Linked DNA regions of Homo sapiens: all the other regions are linked to region 4. The links are contacts of gene promoters, found by promoter capture Hi-C in blood cells and fetal thymus (Javierre and others, 2016). All regions are on one chromosome and are shown on one strand. Each heading gives the region's core, a stretch centred on a gene start or on the middle of the fragment in contact. The rest is flanking DNA. Distances are from core to core; before and after follow the strand shown. Region 1 overlaps NIPBL (NIPBL cohesin loading factor). Region 2 has its middle 120 kb from the start of RANBP3L. Region 3 overlaps NIPBL (NIPBL cohesin loading factor). Region 4 holds the start of SLC1A3-AS1 (SLC1A3 antisense RNA 1).

Region 1 (2,700 bases), core at 1-2,500, 270 kb after region 4:
TATATATTAACTATATTGTCACTTTAGGGTTAAGAGTATTATAGTTGTGTTTTATTAAAATAAACAGTTGATTTAGAAAACAAATACTAATATTTTTATTATGCTAACTTAGTTAAAATTTTCCTTTTATCTTCAGATTTACATTTTTTTTTTAAATTTACCTTTCATTAATAGGTAGTATAGATCAATCAGTGTTAAAAGAATTACCCCCTGAACTCCTGGCAGAAATTGAGTCCACCATGCCACTTTGTGAACGTGTGAAAATGAACAAACGCAAGCGTAGCACAGTTAATGAAAAGCCAAAATATGCTGAAATCAGTTCAGATGAAGATAATGATAGTGATGAAGCTTTTGAATGTAAGTATCACAGAACTCTTTGTTATTATTTTAGAGTTTAAAAGCAGGTTGATGTGTTTTTCTCATTTATAATTTGGGGGTTTAGCAAAAGCACAGTCACCTTAATTCTTAATAACACAGTATAGTAAGTTTTTTTCTCTATACTTTAAAAATGCGTGAAAGATGAGATCAGTTGGCACCAAGAAAAAAATATTAAATAAGCTACAATTAATTTTAAAACACAGGTAGGTATGTGTCTGTATGCATTCAGCAAACATTTATTGAGCTCCTATTATATGCTAGACACTGAGAGTAAAAATGCAAATAAGATATGGCCCCTGTCTTCAAAGAGCCTTCAGTCTAATGGGGGAAATATGTAAATAAATAATTGCAGTATGCTGATAAAAGTACAATGATAACAGTAAATCCAGGGTGCTATGGGAACACATTGGATTGGCATCAAAATCAGAGTGGGGGCTCAGGGAATGCTTACTGGAAGAGGTGACACTTGAGTTGAGTCTTGAAGGACACGTAGGAGATAGCCAGATGAAGAAATATTTAAAACCATACTATCACTAAATTATGAATGGATTAGCCACATTGCAGATTATCTGTGTGGTTTGGACCTGGCTTCTCCTTTTTGCCCAGCTGTGTCCTGGAATTCCTCCCTTGTTTCACTGTTTTCCAGAGCTGGCTTCTTCACTACACAGCTACCTCTCTACAACACTGTGATCACCTGTCTTTGCACTAGACTTGCTATACCTCGCCTGTCTTCCTACTGGTCCACTGAAAAAGTTCTTCTCTTTTATCCCTATCTTCCTTCTTCTGGAGCAAGAGAATTGAGCCTAGCCAAGAGGGGTCAGCAACCTTGTTTGACTTAAACGGCATTCAGTGGAAACAGACTATGGGAGATCTTCACTTGTGTGCCAACTGACTTAGTCATAATGACCAAAAGAAGTGGGAAGACCACCAGTGTTCTACTTTTTCCACCTAGTGTCCATAGATTGAGGTGTGACAAGCAAGGGCAGGAAGGACAGATGCATGCTGCCATTTTTAAATGTATATTGCTGATGGAAGCCCTTCACCTCCTCCAAAGTTTTTAATGTTAATTTACTGATTTTTTTTTAATTGTGAGCTCTTGAGCTATGAGCAGTAGACTATGAATACTGAACAAATCTGAAAAAAGTTTTAAAATTGAAATAAAATATACAGCAAACTTAACATTTAATCATGTATAATTGTTATAATTGTATTATGAAATGTATTGACACACAGTATATTAAAATGGCTAAAGTTAATTTTTTTTATTACAATCAGATATTTTGGTCATATGGGGACGTGGTTAGCTCTGGAAGATGAGAAGATAAAAGAAACATGGGGCCCAGGAACTCATTCCCTTTAATATACATGCCTTACCACTCTGCCTCTTTCCCTCTAATAAACATATCACCCATATCTAGAACAGCCGAGAAGGAGGAGTCCCTGAATTCCAGTTTGATTTCAAATGACATTTCAAATCCAGTTGACTGAAAGTGACTGCCTCCATTACTAAATTGCAAAGATTTCTGAAGCTGTCTCACAGTTAAGTGGAAAGGATAACATAATCAAAAATTTCCACCAAGTGTAAAATAGTGGAGAGTAGAGCCACACATCCCTCATGTTTGTCACCAATGCAGCCACCATTCTTTTCCCCTTGCTTTCTATCATGAAAGCTATTGTCTCATCTTATGGAGGCACATAGCTTCGTTATAAAGCCATGGACCCTGTTATATCTATGCCCAACTATATCGAAAGGTAATATTTATTTTAAAGAACCTAAGCTTCACACACTGCTAGAAGAAAGGAAAGTTTCTCTGGATTTTTAAAGAGATGTCAGGAGTAGCTTCCTGTTTTTCTTCACTTATTTCTATACAAGTAACTATAGAAAAGTGGACACTGGAGGCACCGATTTGAATGGTGAAAGAAGTCCAAATGATTGTTCACATAAACAACCAAATGGTCACACCACAACAGAAACAGTGTATTGAAAATATAGCACAATACAAAATGTGAAACTATTATGAGAACGTTAAGTTGCAAGCATTATGCTGCTGAGAGAGAGAAAAAAAAATTTTTGAAACTTAGCAGTTTAATCAAATTGGTTTCTCAAAATCTAAAACCAAGGAAATAGTTTTGTTGAAGGTTAGGGGAAAATGTTGAAGGATAATTTTGAAAGTTGGGGTACACAGATTTGGATGGCCATAGCACAAATATAAGGTCACTGGGTGCCTGGGGAAAATGGAGAGAGGGGTGATGTAAGAAGCTCAAGAGATACATAGGTGAAATTTGGAAAGAGAAGATAGAGAACACCCAAGTCATGTTTTA
Region 2 (2,700 bases), core at 119-2,618, 300 kb before region 4:
TCTGTTTTACAGCAGGAAACACACACACACACACACACACACACACACACACACACACAGATCTGGGTTTCAGTTTCATCTTTAAAAACTAGGGTTCCTGAACTTCTTCATCAGGCAAAGCCATCACAAACCTACAGACCACCTTTTCTTGAATTAGAAGAAGACACCCCTTTTGAGAAAACTTAGTGAGTTTGGTGCAGTGCTTGGTGAGCAGACTGTAACGCTTGTGTCCTTTGCTCCAGGATCACGCAGCTCTGTGCCACAGTCCATATCTCAGTGAAAAAAAGCACAGGTCTGTATTTCATTTCTGACTTGTCCTGTTGGCAGACACCCCCAAACAACCTGCATAAGTGTATGCAACAGGGCCACCATCAGGAACAATGTGAATGTCCCAAAGTGACAGTCCGGGGCCCCAGCCCACCCACAGATGGGTTTTGTTATCCCTAATGATGTTTGAAAGAATTTGAATTGCTTGTCAACCTTAAAAATTAGGAGATTTCATACAAAATCTAGAGTTCAAGCTTTTCTTGAAAAATGAGATCTGGGCACACTGGCTCTACATTCCTGCATTGCAAATTAAATTGGAGCTAAGCAGTGCTGCCTATTTATGTATGTACTTAAAAATTTTTATAGTATATTTTAGATTTCATTCTCCATTAGCATATAAAAAGCTACCATTTTATTTTTATTATTATTATTTGTATCAGGTTTTTAAATAGATGGTCCTTGTGTTTGGCATAAAATCTAAAAGATATGAAATGGTCTATACACACTGTTCCCCAGTTCCCCAGATGCAACTGCTCCAACCATTCTTATGTGTCCTTTCAAAGGTATTGCATCCACACACTACAAAAACATATGCAGTATTTCTAAGACACCATCAATTGCAAGATGCACCATTATTTTGTGTTCACTAAGAAAAAAAATTCCAATAAAATCATGACATTGTGCCTTAATGATGGTCCTGCCTGATCCATACATCAGTCAAGTCAGCCCCTCATTGCTTTGAAATTTGTTTCATCTATTCTAAGGGGCTGGACATTTTTCCTGCCTTCTGTTGGACCACTTGGAGTATGGCAGCCAATCCTTTTACATGTATCTCAGTAAGAAAATGTAACATGGGGCCGGGCGCGGTGGCTCATGCCTCTAATTCCAGCACTTTGGGAGGCCGAAGCGGGTGGATCACGAGGTCAGGAGATTGAGACCATCCTGGCCAACATGGTGAAACCCCGTCTCTACTAAAAATACAAAAATTAGCTGGGCATGGTGGCACGTGCCTGTAATCCCAGCTACTTGGGAGGCTGAGGCAGGAAAATCTCTTGAACCAGGGAGTCAGAGGTTGCAGTGAGCCGAGATCGCACCACTGCACTCCAGCCTGGCAACAGAATGAGACTCCATCTCAAAAAAAATAAAGAAAATGTAACATGGCTTTATCTACTTGTGGATATCTTCATTTCGTAGGTCTTAAAAAAGACTTAGTTGTTGCTTTGATAGATATGTAATTGATTGATGATATAAATTGATTAAATTGATTCCCTGAATTTATTTTGGTGTAAAAAGTAAGGTACGCATCTATTTTTTCTAGCAGCTGCTTTCAGTTTACTACAGTTCCCTTCCACTTTCAACTGTCTTACCTTAGAGAGCTTCACTTGTGTTACTTGTTTGGCACCCTAATAGACATTTGAGTTTATAACACCTGGACTATTGGACAAATGGCTGGACAATGCAATTAGCAATCTTACTGGTAGTCCACTTGCTATGAGAGGTGGTGTGGTTTCAGCACAGGAAGCAAAGTCCTCTAAATAAGACCTATATAGCTATGCACATGCTTTCAACTGGGAGAGCCCTTTAGGAGCCAGCACATGGCTAGTGTTGCTGGGGTTACCTTACCTGGGGGCTTCTAACTTCTGGCTTGATTCATCTCCCTCCTTCTTTTAGATGATGTGTCTACATCACCGGTAGGCAATGTAAGGAAAGCAAGTAAGATTCGTATCAATACAAGACAACCTAATAAAAAGCAAAGCTAAAATTGAAGCCTGGGAATAGGCTTCTGCATTTACATTAAATATGTGATAATTTTGGTGCAAATTGACATGGTTGTTCTAAGACAGACACATCTTAAAGTATGCCTTGTACTCAGAAGATGTGCAGTAGACAAATTTTAGAGGTGTGAGTTCTGGGCCTTCCTCTACTAGGGTACCTTGTGCCTCTTTGAATAAGCTTGTCTCTGACACTTCGCTTATTGGCCTATTCTATGTAGAGATGGTTTAGACCAGAATCTAGATCTAGGATCTAAAGTTCTTTGAACAACAGATGTCTTTGAAATACACGTAATTTAATATAAACTTTCAGAGCATTCACAGGCTCCCTGATGTCCATCTATTCATTTCTATACATGACTGTCCAACGCTTGCCTTTATACACATTCTAAGTTTCACTTATTTTTTCTTGTGTCACTGTCACAGAGACAACATTTAACAGTGCTTAGCGGCTGCACATTAAAGATATTTTTCAATCTTCTATTCCTTGAGAGAGTAATAACCAAACAGTCTTGTAGAGGATATTCATGGCCCTGGCATCTGATATTAGGGCACAAACACCTTCCACTTACAGAGCAAATATGCCAGATACTCACTTTCCTAGCACCTTTGCAGCTAGGGCCTGAATCTCAGTTTTGTTTCTGCCCTGGATTTAGAATTG
Region 3 (2,700 bases), core at 142-2,641, 290 kb after region 4:
GAGAAAGTGGAGTTTGTGAAATAGACTCATTTTAAACCATATTTTATTTAATGTACATTTATATATTTTGTTACTAAACATAGAAAAAAGAAAACTTAGCTAACAATTTCAATCATGTTGGTAGACAGATGACTGACATGTGTCACCTAAATTGACATCCTTTTCATTATTTGCCTTTGAACAGATGTGGTAGTAAGCAAGGTGAAGAAGATTACAGACCACTGTTTGAAAATTTTGTTCAAGACCTTCTTTCAACAGTCAATAAGCCTGAATGGCCAGCTGCTGAACTACTCCTTAGTTTGTTAGGGAGACTGTTGGTAAGAGTATAGCATTTAAAGATTATTAGATTACTAGAAGACAACATAATGAGGATGTACTCTGATTCACAGATGATGAATTCTTTAAAAATGTGTAAGGAAATATGAACATTGCATCTCTTTTTGCATGTGCATAACTGTACACAATATTGTCAGTACCTTGTAGAAAATTTTCAAATGTTGTGAAGTTTGGTGCTTTCATTTCATTACATAAGATAACAGTGCTTTAACAATTTTTTTTTTTTTGGAAATGTTATATTGTTAAAAGCATCTCAACACTGAGTCATAAGTTACTCATTTCAAAGCAAGAAAATGATTAATATAGACTCCTTATCATCTTTAAGAGTATTTCTACAAATGTATGGCATTTTGTAGTCGTCATGTAACACAGTAGGTAAATGCAAAGAAATGTTGTGACTCTATTTTTAAACTACATTTGAACTTGCACAATACACATTGTTACAAAGCTTCTGGGACCTTTTTGTGAATGGGAAAATATGTTAATATTATTCGGAAACTATAATAACTTTTCATAGGCATCAGAATTCCACCCTAAGAAATTCTTACTCAGTAATACCACATTTTGTGCAAATAATACAGTTGAGCCTGCATATTTAATGAGTTGTGTTGTTCTTAAGGAAGTTTAATCTGTAATTTTTTTAGTCACATGAAAATGTTCAGATTCCAGAAAATCAAAAGGCAAAAATGACTTTATGGGACAATATCACAGGAAAAAAAAAAGTTTAAATTTTAAATTATACAATTTAGATTGGGAATTTATATGATAAATTGCTATTTAAAATATATTGTTATAAATCTATTCAATCAAAAACTATTTTGATATTTAGGTTCATCAGTTCAGTAACAAGTCAACAGAGATGGCTTTAAGAGTGGCATCTCTTGATTACCTTGGAACTGTTGCTGCACGGCTAAGAAAAGATGCTGTTACAAGCAAAATGGATCAAGGATCTATAGAACGCATTTTAAAACAGGTACTAAGATAAAAGATTAAAATTATGGGAATGAATAATAGTTATTTTCTTTGCATGTCCTTACATTAGTTTTGCATTTCATTTTGTGTGGATTCAAAATAAGATTTTTACTTCTAAAAGTGGGCTTTTCAAAGCCCCAGTGAGAAATTTTAAGACCTGAGAATGAATTATTTAGTCTAACAGGGACTTCTGAATGGTTCATATAAATCATTTACTTTCTTTTTGTGAAGTACTCTTAATAATGTATAATGCTGTTTTATATTTGATTTAACATAAATTTTATTTAAGTTTTTAATTTACTGAATGGTGATTTAGCATACACAATAAGATTGTTTTGTACTTTTGAATGTTTTGTATCTTCTCATACCAAGGAGGTGTGAGGAGAGCTTTTTTATACTTTATTACATTAGAGAGTTTTCATCTTGGGGGAAAAAGTGTTTTATTGCTTTTTTTTTTTTAATGTGGATGAAGTGGTAGTAATAAAGTTACTTGAGAAAACTGGTGAAGAAATGATTTCTAATCCTACTATATACAACTTCTGTTTTCATTTTTTTCTAGTCTTTTTTTATGCTCGTAATCATATCCATGTTGGTAGAAATGCCTCTAATTTTTTTTTAGCTATAGTTCGTGTTTTGAAATAATCTCAACCTTAGAGAAAAATTGTAGGAATAGTACAAAGAACTCCCATAAAAGCTTCTTGCAAATTCCTCAATTATTGACAATTTACAAAATTTCCTTTCTCATCTTTCAAAATATAGATGTATGTGTGTCTGTATATGCATTTTTTTTTAAATTTTGTTTCGAACCACTTGAAGTTAAGTTGCAGACATGATTCCCTCATTACCCCTGAATTCTCTAATGCAGTGATTTTCCAAGTATGATCCCCTTGACAAGTAACACCAACATTGAAATCATCTGGGAACTAACAAGTACATTTCTAACAAAAGTACAAATTCTTAGGACCCTCCCTGGACCTACTGAATCAAAAACTCTTGGTTTAACAAGCCCTCCAGGTGATTCTAATGAATGAATGAATGCTGAAACTTGGGAACCACTGCTTAGTGTATATTTCTGCAAACAAGAGCTCTCACTTAAATATCTATAGTACAATTATCAAAAGCAAAAAATTATCATTAATACAATATTAACATCTGATGTAATACAATACCTACTCTGGTAAATTATAATTTGTTGCCATCATTATTTTAATGCTCAAATCGTCCTAGATTTGATCAATGAGAACCCTTTGAAGCTGGCTTTTATATCATTTTGATATATTCCCATCATAATTTGAGGGCTTTCTAGAACAAAAAGGTATTTCAGGCAGATCTTTTACCTTCCCTACCCCTGCCCTGGGATCAGTTGTTTCTCCTAGGAATCTTGGTTCCTTT
Region 4 (2,700 bases), core at 181-2,680:
AAATGAAATAGAAAATAAAAACGAATGGTAGAAATAAAAGGAACTGAGTAGTAGGGGGCAGAGGCATGTCTAGGGGAGAGAACTAGAACTGCCAAGGGATTTGAGTGCCTGATGGATTCTGAAGACTGAAATATACATGACCCCAAAAAGCAATGTCATTTGTAAATATTTGTTAATGAGTTTAGTGAAGTGCTACATGGAGGAATGATCTAGCCAATGAGAACAATGTGCACCAGCCAGTTGGATTCTTGAAGCTGCAGAGACTTCATCTTCAGCCACAGCAGGTGGCTGAGGGCTAGAGTTACTTGGGACTTTCCCCAATGCTCTAGTTCCTTCTATCTCTTGGAAACAAGTCTGGCTCAATATGTTCAGCAGCCCCATTGATGTTGCCCAGAGGAAGTGTGGATCAGGGCTCGCTGACCCCAAGGTTAGCAGCAGAAGAGCAGGGCCTCTGCCTCCCCAGCCAGGAAGCCCACAGTCTTGGCCACATGAATGAAGGAGGTCTTGGCAGCATCTGACACACCTCGGGGTAATGATTTAGCCACCCCAAATTACCGTGTCTCCACAAAATAGTCACTTGGGGCCACACTACATTGTGGAGAGATAATGAAAGAGCTTCTATTTTTGAGCTATCTTTTCCTCATATGCGAATAATTTCACACACAAAAAAATGAGAAAACCACTTCTCTCTGTCACCTACAGAATCAGGAACAGGGATCAGATTATCTTTTAGATACCCGCCCCAAAAAGAAATAAAAATCAAGAAAACATGGGTAAATACCATGGTGGACATTTAAATGAAGCTGAGAAAGAAAGCTTTCTCTATTTAGAGAAGAATTCAAAATGGATGGCAGGAGATTTGTTGAAAATAAGGAAGAGGGAGGGAAAGGTTAGTAAATAATAGGTCAAATCTTCAGCCTAGAGGGCACTACTAAGTTTTCTTTTGTTCCCCCTTAGGTTTCCTGGTGTAGCAGTGCAGTTGCAACGTAGTTTTGTTTTTTGGGTTTCTTTAAACCTAGAGTGGTAAGAGGGACTTGGTGGCGATGGACTGCCATGGGTCGGTTCCTTAGAGGGCTCTTGAGTTTTTCCCACCTGTCTCCAACTCCAGGGCCACCACTCTAATAAAGCCACTGCCATCTCTGACCAGCTCCCCTGCTGTGGCTTTCACTCTTGCTCTCTTTACAGCCCATTCCACACAGCAGCAGCCAGCATGGCACTTCCCGTTCTGGGCCCCTCCCACTGACTGCACCCTGTGCTTGTCCTTCATAGTGTGTAAAGATCTGTATGTGGGGTGATTTGACTAACGGTTCTCTCCCCTTAAGTATAAGTAAACCTATGAGGGCAAGGACTGCTTACCTTAGCATCCTTGGTTCCTGGTAGGATGCCCATCCCATAACAGGCTGGAGCTCCTGGGTGTGTGGGAGGGAGTAGGAAGGAAGCAACAGCTGCCAATCAAAGGCCCATTTGGGCATGTGACCCTTAGCTAGCCAATCAGAATCCTTTCCAGGGTTGTAGCAGTTGAAGCTGTGAGCAGCTCAGTTGGTTGGGTTGTCTGTCTTGTCTTGGCTTGGATTCTCCCAGAAGGAGATCCTGAGTCAATGATTCGGGTGCAAGTAGATTTCTTCTGGGAGCCTTTCTTTAATAAAGCACTTGCACCTGAGTCATTGACTCAGGATCTATTTCAGGATCTCCTTCTTGAGGGAGAGGGCGAAACAGGATCCAGAAGAAGCAAAGCAATGGAGCAGGCATGGCATCAGGAAGAGGACAGGGAGGCTGCCGTAAGCCCAGCAGGCTCCCTTTCAGGCTGTTAAGGAGGGGGATGAGTACGAACATGAAGGTGGCCCAAGTAGCTCTAAGGTCCCTTCTCTCATCTCCTGTCCTTACCGGGGGCCGTAGGCTCTAGATAAAACGCTGCCCCACCACCCGCCAGGGCTTTTGTTTTGGCTCACCTTTCATCCGCCTTCTCAGACTCTGTCTGCCTTGGCTTCCCTCAGCTGAACCCAGGGAATTTGCATTTTGCTATTTTCCATCTGCACTGGGTAGCCTGGCTCCAGATGTTTGGGGCAGCAAATGCAGAAATTCCAGGCAAACGGATCTGATCATTCTCTGCTTGGCTCCACTCGCTGCATCCCAAGCACCAGATGCCTCACTGGTGTCTGCCTACCTTCCTGGGAGGCAGATCCACCGCTCATAAGATAGAGCCCAACGACAAGACCCTGTACTTATGGAGGCCTTTTATTTAACAACTCATTTCATTGAAGGAAAAATCTAGAATCTACTAAGACCTCCTGATATTTTTTAATTAACTAGAAATTGTGGATGTATCCCTCAATATTTTCATCTAAAGTGGTTGAAATGATAATGGAGGGGAAACTGTGTTTTAAAAGCGTGTTACTCCATTTCTTTCATTCACCTCCATCAATGATAATATGAGTTATCACTCTTAATATTAACCACGTGGCAGGCTTCATGCATTCTCACATACATTTCACCCTAAGGCCTGGAGAAGATAATTTCACCAAAGTCACACAGGTAGTACATGGAAAGGTGTAAATTTGAACCTGGATCTTACTGCAAACCCATACTCTTAACTGCTTCATTCAACTTTTGCCAGCAATCATTTGTCATAGACTAAATGCCAGAACCTAAGCCCAAGATTTTGCAGTATACAGAGGAGAAACTGGATGTCTTTTGAAATGC

What was found. The method cuts DNA at HindIII sites, captures the fragments that hold promoters and counts their contacts. A CHiCAGO score of 5 or more calls a contact.
Region 1: a fragment that was not itself captured here is called in contact with the fragment with the promoter of SLC1A3-AS1 in region 4 in 14 of 17 cell types (megakaryocytes, naive B cells, total B cells and 11 more); the score reaches 14.1 in megakaryocytes.
Region 2: a contact is called between a fragment that was not itself captured here and the fragment with the promoter of SLC1A3-AS1 in region 4, in 4 of 17 cell types (M0 macrophages, M1 macrophages, monocytes and 1 more). The highest score is 7.5, in M0 macrophages.
Region 3: a contact is called between a fragment that was not itself captured here and the fragment with the promoter of SLC1A3-AS1 in region 4, in 6 of 17 cell types (megakaryocytes, naive B cells, erythroblasts and 3 more). The highest score is 9.1, in megakaryocytes.

The regions. Positions count from the first base shown.
Region 1 is chr5:36,995,448-36,998,147 of GRCh38, forward strand. It overlaps NIPBL (NIPBL cohesin loading factor), which reads left to right. Exons shown (of 47, transcript NM_133433.4): 11 at 175-357. Among named protein-coding and RNA genes, the nearest start is that of NIPBL, 120 kb to the left of the region's middle. The HindIII fragment of the contact is 1,808 bases long and covers 347-2,154 here.
Region 2 is chr5:36,419,709-36,422,408 of GRCh38, forward strand. No RefSeq gene overlaps it. Among named protein-coding and RNA genes, the nearest start is that of RANBP3L, 120 kb to the left of the region's middle. RefSeq lists a silencer at 1-93. The HindIII fragment of the contact is 1,699 bases long and covers 520-2,218 here.
Region 3 is chr5:37,015,854-37,018,553 of GRCh38, forward strand. NIPBL (NIPBL cohesin loading factor) reads left to right here. Exons shown (of 47, transcript NM_133433.4): 23 at 185-317; 24 at 1,166-1,309. Among named protein-coding and RNA genes, the nearest start is that of NIPBL, 140 kb to the left of the region's middle. The HindIII fragment of the contact is 1,218 bases long and covers 783-2,000 here.
Region 4 is chr5:36,723,758-36,726,457 of GRCh38, forward strand. It overlaps SLC1A3-AS1 (SLC1A3 antisense RNA 1), which reads right to left and starts at 1,431. Exons shown (of 2, transcript XR_007058736.1): 1 at 1,357-1,431. RefSeq lists enhancers at 9-58, 69-118, 159-428. The HindIII fragment of the contact is 5,384 bases long and covers 815-2,700 here.